Linked DNA regions of Homo sapiens: regions 2 and 3 are each linked to region 1. The links are contacts of gene promoters, found by promoter capture Hi-C in human tissues and cell types (Jung and others, 2019). All regions are on one chromosome and are shown on one strand. Each heading gives the region's core, a stretch centred on a gene start or on the middle of the fragment in contact. The rest is flanking DNA. Distances are from core to core; before and after follow the strand shown. Region 1 holds the start of DRD2 (dopamine receptor D2). Region 2 has its middle 39 kb from the start of DRD2. Region 3 has its middle 63 kb from the start of DRD2.

Evidence for each region. Contacts are between HindIII fragments. The study calls those that stand out against the background at their distance.
Region 2: a contact is called between a fragment that was not itself captured here and the fragment with the promoter of DRD2 in region 1, in 6 of the 25 tissues and cell types used here (H1 embryonic stem cells, aorta, bladder and 3 more).
Region 3: a contact is called between a fragment that was not itself captured here and the fragment with the promoter of DRD2 in region 1, in 1 of the 25 tissues and cell types used here (bladder).

The regions. Positions count from the first base shown.
Region 1 is chr11:113,474,027-113,476,869 of GRCh38, reverse strand. DRD2 (dopamine receptor D2) reads left to right here and starts at 1,472. Exons shown (of 8, transcript NM_000795.4): 1 at 1,472-1,794. LOC105369501 (a long non-coding RNA gene) reads left to right here. Exons shown (of 6, transcript XR_948024.2): 6 at 1,017-1,341. The HindIII fragment of the contact is 27,627 bases long and covers 1-2,843 here.
Region 2 is chr11:113,513,252-113,516,026 of GRCh38, reverse strand. No RefSeq gene overlaps it. Among named protein-coding and RNA genes, the nearest start is that of DRD2, 39 kb to the right of the region's middle. The HindIII fragment of the contact is 5,554 bases long and covers 1-2,775 here.
Region 3 is chr11:113,537,317-113,540,435 of GRCh38, reverse strand. No RefSeq gene overlaps it. Among named protein-coding and RNA genes, the nearest start is that of DRD2, 63 kb to the right of the region's middle. RefSeq lists an enhancer at 1-70. The HindIII fragment of the contact is 8,667 bases long and covers 1-3,119 here.

The sequences.
Region 1 (2,843 bases), core at 223-2,722:
TCCCTATAGAGCCTGCAGGCAAATGGAGGCCAGTCCAGATCAGCAAGATCCAGGGGCAGGAGCTGGGAAGAGTCATGGTGGGGTGAGGTGGGGAGCCCACAGCTTCCTCTGCTCCCGTGCCTCCAGAGATGGCTGCATTTGAGAGAGGTGCTGTTTTGTGCCTCTGGAGAGGGGGACGGTTCAGTGCTGGACTCTGTGGGATTTGCAAGGACACTCCATCTCTCTGGGACTCAGTTCTCCCTTCTGAGGTGAGGCGGAATTGGATGAATGTTAAGGTCCTTTCCAGCCCTCACTTTCTATAATTGTGTGTGTCATTGGAGGAAATGCTGAGATGAAGTTAATCCTTGTGGCCCAGAGAGGCTGGATTCCAGCCATGCAGGGCCGACTCCCTGCTCTGCAGAGTCAGTCCTCTGCCCCTGCTCTTCCCTCTCCCTGGAGTGTTGTGCCACCTTCTCCCCTTGGGAACTGGTGTTGCTCCTTCAATGCCCGGTTCCTGTAAAGTCTCGCTTTTTTGTGCTTCACAGCACCTGTTTAAGCCTCAGTTATTTCCCTGGGGGTCCCCTCTCTGGATTGCCAGGGTGCGGGATCAGGGGCCTGGTTTTCTTTCTGTGTGTGACTTCTGAATCTGACACAGAATCTGGCAAACTGAGGACAGTTGGTAACTAATTGCTGCAGAAGAAAGAAAAGAAAGAGAAAGAAAGAAAAAGAAAGGAAGGAAGAAAGAAAGAAAGAAAGGAAAGAAAGAAAGAGAAAGAAAGAAAGAAAGAAAGAAAGAAAGAAAGAAAGAAAGAAAGAAAGAAAGAAAAGAAAAGAAAAGAAAGAAAAGGAGAGAGGAAGAAAAGGGGAGAAGAACGAGGTTCCTCTGCAGCCCAAATGACAGTGGGCAGGGTAGCAGCGGAACACCCTTCACCACTCTATCTCTTTCTCCCTCTCCCCACTCCCTGCCTCACACACCTCAGTTTGGAGTCAAGGGTGAGCTGGAACCCCTGAGGCCTCCTTTTGCATTTCCATGTCAGGTCAACTCCAAACAGGCTTTTTCCTTTGGATGAGTCCAGCAATAGAACTGACTACATAGATTCCAAGACCTGAAGTCAGAAAACGGATGCGGACCTCTTCCAACACCTCCTCTCCTTGCCTGACTTGCTGGATGGGTGGTGCCTCCCGCAACCCTTGGCTTCTGAGTCCTCAAAGGAGAAGACTGGCGAGCAGACGGTGAGGACCCAGCCTGCAATCACAGCTTATTACTCTGGGTGTGGGTGGGAGCGCAGTGGGCGGTCGAGGGTTGCGTTCCCGCCTCAAAACAAGGGATGGCGGAATCCCCCAACCCCTCCTACCCGTTCAGGCCGGGGATCGCCGAGGAGGTACAGCTCCTTTGGTGGGGGGCGGGGGCGGGGCCTGTCTCAGGGGCGGGGACCGGGGCACCTCCCTCCCGCGCTCCCCGCGCTCGGGCGCCGCAGAGCTGTCCAGCTTCAGTGCCGAACCGGCAGCCTCACGCGCGCACCGCGCCGCCTCCGCCCCGTCCCCGCGCTCCCTCCTGCCCGCCCGCCCCGCGCCCGGCCCCGCCCCGCCCCGCCCCGCCGCGGCCCGTCCACTGCTCCCCGCGGGCCAGAGCCGGCCGAGCTGCTGCCCGCCGGGGCTCTGAACGGCGCGGCGGGGCCGGGAGCCAGGGACCGGCCGAGGAGAGTGGCGGCCCCGGACGGCTGCCGGAGGGGCGGCCGCGCGTGGATGCGGCGGGAGCTGGAAGCCTCAAGCAGCCGGCGCCGTCTCTGCCCCCGGGCGCCCTATGGCTTGAAGGTAAGCACCGGCCGGATGGAGCGGCGGGCGACTCAGTGTCACGGGGAGAGGAGGAGGGACCTCCAAGGGGAGCGAGGCCAGGACCAGAAGTTTGTGCGGCCACTCCTGGCCGCCTGCTCGGGAGCGCCCGCCTGGGATCCGGCTCTGCATGGGCTCCCCGTCGGGCGGGGGCAGAGGGCGTCTGGAGCCCGCGGCTGCTATCCCCTCTCCCTCCTTCTCAGTAGCCTCCTCGCCACTTAGAAGGGAATCCTCTCCCCGAGCACGAGCGGGCGCAGCTGGGGCAGCCTCCCCGCGGGGCGCCCAGGGCAGCACGGCGGAGCCGCGGCATCGGAGGGCGGGAGGGAGGCCGCTCCCCACAATCTCGGGAGGGCACTTCCCCCAGCACCCAAGCGCGAGACCCGGGGCTCGCGGCCAGAGTTTCCGACTTCTTCCGGAGGAAGAAGGGCTGTTTTTGGCAACTCTGTGTTGGTGCGACCTGACCCTTTTCAGTTTCTAAGGCAGAAGCTAAGGATGGGGGAGAGGCAGATTCTGGCTGGATTCTCCCGCTCCCACGGTTGCCGCTGTCCTTGGTCCTGAACTTTCGTTCTCCTTCGCCTTCTCTTGGGTTGACACCTAGTCGGGGAGGGAGGCTTGGGTGCCAGACCCGTTTCTACCCGGCAGTGCAGGCGACGGTGGCGGCAGTAGCGGAGGGTGACCGCCCGGCTCTCGGCCCGGCTCTATGATGGACCGAGAGCCCCTCTAGGGTGGTATGCGGAGACAAGAGACACCTCTAAGCACCAGACAGAGCGCTTCCCTATCCCTGTCTGAGGCGGGCAGCCCTTGAGTGCTTCCTCTTGAAGAGCAGAGGTAAGAGGGTGCGTGTGCGTCTACATAACAGGCTTCACCATGGACACAAGTCACAGCAGTGCAGCTCCGTGGGGACAGGCGCTTGCTCTCAGCCACAAGGAAGCTGTCTGAGCAAGTCACTGTTGCCCCACCTGACACCCCACTACTTTTTTTTCGGTGGCTCTTGAGGTTGGGTGAGGGGGTGAGGGAGTGAGGTGCAAGGC
Region 2 (2,775 bases), core at 45-2,544, 39 kb before region 1:
AGTGCTGTTGCACTATTTCTCACCAGGTGGTCTCTAGGAGGCTCCAGCCCCCTCATTCTGATCCTAAGGTCCCATGATGGCTCTTGGTCTGTTATAGCTGCCTTATACCTTAGGCCAAGGGGAGCCTCCGTAGCCCTTTGGGGCTGGATGGAGGCAACAAAATGAGCACTTAGTCCATGTGGTATGAATCCCACCTGTGGTCGTCCTGCCCTCAAACATATGCCCAGGTGTGGACAAACCAATTCCAGAAGCCCCATAGCATAGCACTCTGGCACCCCTTGTCCCTGAAGAGATGGAGTCCAGGACAGGCAAGGTGGAAGGAGAGAAGAGAGAAGGCCCCATCAGGAGGCAGGGGTGGCCAGGGGTGATGTGCAGTGCAATAGAGCATATCTGACCATGTGACATCCCTCTCCATTCTTTCAGTGGCTCTCATTGCTGACAGGCTGAAGAATCAGCCCCTTAAGTGCCTTACAAGGGTGCTGTAGCTAACTCCTACCCATCCTGGTCACCTCCAGGCCAGGTGATGTGCCCACACTTCGACTCCATCCCAGCAGACTTTATCCCAAATATCTGATTGTGCATCTGTCTCCAACAGTCACTGGATTCTGAGGTCCTCCAGGGCACCGAGCCCAGGCCTTTACACAGGTGCCTTGTGACCAGTTGGTGTTTAAGGAATATTTGCTGAGCAAATGAATGAATGCGAGCTGTGTGGATATTTCTCAGGGCACTGAGCAATATCTGGGCCAGGCTCAGAGTAGCATGCACATCACTCTGGCCACTTCTTCCAGATGGATGGCAGTCCTCTGCTTCCCAGTGTGAGCCCATGACTTCTCCCTCCCCTTTCAGAGTCCATAATTAATGTGGCACCTTCAGTAATAAACATGTGCTTGTGGGCTCCAATCTTTCTCATTAGAGCCTGGGCAGATTGCTCACCTTTTCCTGGTGATGATGAATGACTCACCTTGCCCAGCACACGGCCCTGTCCTGTCCTGGGTGAAAGTGCTCCCATGCTTCCCGGATCTGACACTCACTAGCACTGACACAGAGCCCCCACATTGGATGGATGTAGGCCCAAAGTTGGTGTCCTCAGGTGGACAGTGGTCCAGGTAGTGCCCCAGTCCTAGCCTCAACCTTCAGCTTGATGTTCAAGGCCCTCCCAGACCTGGTCCCTGTCTACCTGGTTGGACCCTTTGTCACTGAACCTTCTCTGTGCGGTGCATTCCTGCCTCTTCAGGAGTTTGTTCATGCAGTTCCCCCTCATTGATACCTCTTTCTTTTATGCCTTTCTGAAACTCACTCATGAAAGAGCCTATAAAAGTGACACCTCCTCCATGAAGTCTTCCCTGACCTTCCCAGTGCAGAATTCCCATGTCTTCCTTTTACACTTGGCATAGGATGTCTTCTTGCCCCAGGAGCTCTGTCACTAACTGCGTATCACTTTCCCTACTTGTGTCTCAGATTCCTTGTCTTTACAGGAAAAAAAATCACTCCACAGACTTCTTGTGAAGTTTAAATGACCTTCATTCATTCAACATTTGCAAACATTAATTCTGTATTTCCTTCAAAACACGCAAAATGATGTGCAGAGGCCACAATGATGAAGAAAACATAGCTTCACCCTCAAGTAGTGTGCAGTCCAGTGAAAAATAATCTAAGTAATAATAATAATAAAAGCTTCACATTTTTGCTTTCCAGGGCATATCAAGCCAAATACTTTACATACAGACAGATACAGAGGAGATTATAATCCCAAGTAATAACGTGCTTTGACATTGGACAAACTCTCAGATAAACTGAATGTGATACTATCGCTACTCATCATAAATGTCTGTCGGTCTTGGCTCCCCATTTAGGCCATGAGCTCCGTAAGTCAGAGCAGGAATCATCCTTCTTTGTAACTTCCATGATACCTTCAGCAAATTATGTTTCAATCCATGATTATTTGCTGATCGGTTAATCTCCTAGGACCAGGAGGACTGGAGGAGATGCTGCCCTGTCCAGAGGTAAAGGCCATTGGACACCTGGTCAACAGGACCTGCCAAAGGTCACTCCTTCCAGCTCCAGCCAACAGATGAGGACCAGTTGTCCTTCCTTGAAAGGCTTCAGAATAAGAGCATCAGAAGACCTGGTCTCAGGTCTCAACCCTGGAACTTCCCCATCTTCAAGCTTCAATTTCTACCTCTGCAAAATCTGAACAATATCTCCTGTCTTGCCTCACTTAAGGATCAGTATGACAATCAAAGAAGGTGATGGATTTTACCACCTGCATCATGAGAAATAGAGCTTGAGGGGTCATTATCCCTTGCATTTTCAAGATAAACCTTTAGGTTTTGAGTTTTAAAGAGGTTTTACTAAACTTAGGATGGAAATTCAGCCCAAGTGGCCCCTGGGCAGACAAGAGATATGGGGACACCAGGATTGCCTGGCATCATCACCTGGCCCCAAATGGGCACAAGTCTTTTTGTGAGTCTGTCTTCACTCTGTCACTCATGGCAGGTGCTGCAGGAGGTGAAGATGGGAAGGGTAAACTCCTGTCACACTGGGCAGGAGAAAGGGCAGGCTATCACAGTGTCCGACCTGGGCAGGATGCTCCCTAGGGCTTAGCCAGCCTCCAGGTCACTTCACAAAATGTCACTGCACCTGCATGGAGAATTTTCCAGCTTTTAATGAGGCCACCAAAGCAGTGCGTGGATAAAGTTCTGCCTCTAATCCCCAATTAAGGCTCCTAGGCTTCACTGCATCCGGCATCTGGTTGCTGGTGGGTACAGTAATCGT
Region 3 (3,119 bases), core at 359-2,858, 63 kb before region 1:
GGAAAACTCCACAGATTTCAAAAGCTGACTAGCTGATCTCATTTGTATCCTAAGATGACTTAAAGCCTCATGGGCATCTTGGCTGACACTGGTCTTGGTTGGCCCTGCTTGGGTGGGATGTGAGAACAGCTGCCCCTCCTCATCACCAGGTTCAGAGGGATATTCAGGCCCTGTCAGGCCCTGCTTCTCTGCTTCTCCTCTGGGTGAAGACCCAAGATGTGCATTCTGGCCTCATGGTGACGTGTGTATCTCTCTGCAGCCGTCCTAGATCTCTTGGGTTGACCCATGCTTTTGCTGTGGGCATAGTAGCCTTATAGAAGTAGGCCTTGGGCTTCCAGCTGTTCTCCTCTGAGCAGCAGACATTGTTTCTCCTGGAGATGTCTTTGACTCCGGATCCTCTTTTCTCCCTGCCTGCAGCATATTCACTAGCTGGGCTTGTGGATGATGTTTTCTTCTTGTCATTTGGATGAAATCTGACTTCTTCCCCTCCTACTATAAGCAGTGCCTGACCCAGCCACATCCACAGCCCTGAAATGAAAGATGTCCACTTTCCAGGCGGAATCTTGGGCATGCTACATAACTTTTTTGAATTTTTCTTTCCTTATCTGTAAGATGGAGATGATAACACCAGCCTCCTAAAGTTTTGTGGAGTCCAAAGAGATAGTCAATGTACAGGACCTGGCAAAAAGGGAGGGAAAGAGAGATGTAGTTATCATGATTAAAACTTGCAGCCCTGGCACCTGCTGAGCTCCTGACCTGGCTAGTAGAGGTTTCAGGACTTTCAAAAACAAGCCTGAGTTTCAGCCTATCCTCAGGGGGTGGGCACTACAAGTGCCAATCCAGGCAGGTAGTGTGGGGCAGGGCGAGGACATTAGGCTGAGTGTCAGGGCCTGGGTTTGGGGCTGACTTTGGGTGATCTTAACCAAGTGTCTCCCTTTTCAGCCTTGCTATGATGTATTTTCTGGTTCGTGCGGTCTGAAAACTATAGGGAGCTGGGGAGATGCTTCCAAAGAGAGAAAAAGGAGATGCCCAGGTTAGCTTAATGAGTGAGGGCTATAGGCAATGCATGCATTGACCCAACTGTGAGTTTAACTGTGAGCAGATGCAGGGTTTGCTGGATCCATGAAACCAACTCCAAGAAATCTCCAGGGCTGAATCCCTGTTGGCAGCCTTAGCGACGCTGCTTTTCAAAGCTACTGAGGTGAAAAGGGTTCTTTGCTTTGGTCATGATGGAAGCCCTGGGGCGGTGACAGCTATGAAATGTCCCATAGGCATGAGGGAGAGAGGCTGGTCTGGTCTGTCTGGGATGGCCCAGGCTGCTTCTGTGCCCCCTCTGCTGTCACAAGCAATGAGCCTGCTTCTCTTGCTTGTCCACACAGCTCTCTGGGTCCACAGAAAGAAGAGTGTGAGCGAGTCGGGGTAAGCCTTAGTGAAAGCCAGGGGCTGCTGGTGACAGGCTGGACCACCTTAGAGAGGCATCTAACCTCCAAGTCCCATTGTTTTCCTCTTTTGGGAACCAGAGATAAAGGTGGTGTGATCATCTTTGCCTGGCCAGAATGAGGGAAAATCATTGAGAAAGTGATTTTCTCACTTGGAGGAAAAGATGTGTGATGGTGGCATAACTCCTGGCCAAACACCACCCACATTCATTGCAGGGAGAGGTGGCCTGAGATATCTATTTACTTTCTAATTCAGGCTTTAATTTAGCAAGCAATTGTTGCCTTTTGTGAGCAAAGCACTCCTTGCTTGGGAGTCCAAAAATGAATAGAATCTGGTGCCTGCCTCCTGGGGCTCACATTGTAAGTCCCCACTCTCTTCCCTTTGTGTAAACAATACCAGCTCTACCTACCATCCATCACATGAAACAGTCTGAGCTCTTCCCAGCACTCTGGTTGAATTCCAATCTTCCAGAAATGTCATGAATTTTAAGCTCATTTAATCCTCATACAACACTGTCTGGAGTGGTGTTTTAAGTACCGTTTTGCAGGTGAGGGCACTGAGGCTCCGAGATGTCCATAATAGGGGCAGAGCATGTACACCCTGAGAGGACCTGTGGGCTTCCCAGAGGAGGTGACACTTGCCTGGATTTTCATGCATGGGTTGGAGGTCACTGGAAGGACAAGAGGGGCAGGGGCACATCAGGAAGAGGGAACATCTTACTCAAAAGCTCAGAGATCAGAAATAAATACTGTGCCATGGAAATAGCCAGCAGCTAATTTTCAAGTTTAGAAAAGCTAAGAAGGTCCCTGTATACCAGGCAAAAGAGTTGTGTCTTTAAGCTGGGGCAATGCTGAGTGTGCATGTGTTTGTATGCATGTATGTGTGTGCATGTGCGTATCTGTGTACCTGTGGTGGCATTTGCTCTGGGAAGAATCATCGTGGATTTTATCTTCCCTTTAATGGTAGGCAGATAATACGGAGGCAGGTGGGGCTGGAGGTAGACAGACCAGATGAGAGGTTATCGCAACTGTCTAGTAATATTAATCAATATTTACTGAGTACTTATCCCGTGCCAGGTACAGTGCTAAATACTTTGCAAGGATTATCTCATAAATCTTGTATCAACCTCTGAGGCAGCTGTCACTATTATGCCCACATTACATACAAAGAAACTGAAATTTCAACAGGTTTAATAACTTGCCCAGGATTGCACAGCATAAGCTATGAGCATAAACTGAGATTTGAACACAGCTTTCTCTGACCAGATTCCAAATCCCTGACCATGATTACCTAGTATGACAAGGGCTTACATTTACGCAGGGATGGTGGGATTGAAAGTAGAGGAAATACCTGATAAATATTTAGGAGGTAAAACCAGTGAATTTGGTGAGCAAATTGGTCCCAGGAACGAATGAGAGGAAGATGCTTTCAGCCTGGGTGACTATGGAGCCTGGAGAAACATAGATGTTATAGAAAAGACATTGCTTTTGTGATCTCAGGTTTACCTGATGCAGGTATAACAGGATCTGGACTCTGCTCTTCAACACATGAACGGCCCCTCCTTATTCAATTTATAACTGATCAGCAATTCATCTATGGGGAGGTGAGAGCCCTGCCTAGGACTCCAGGGTCCTCACCCCAAGTATTGATCCAGTTAAATTGATCTAGTGATTGTTCTC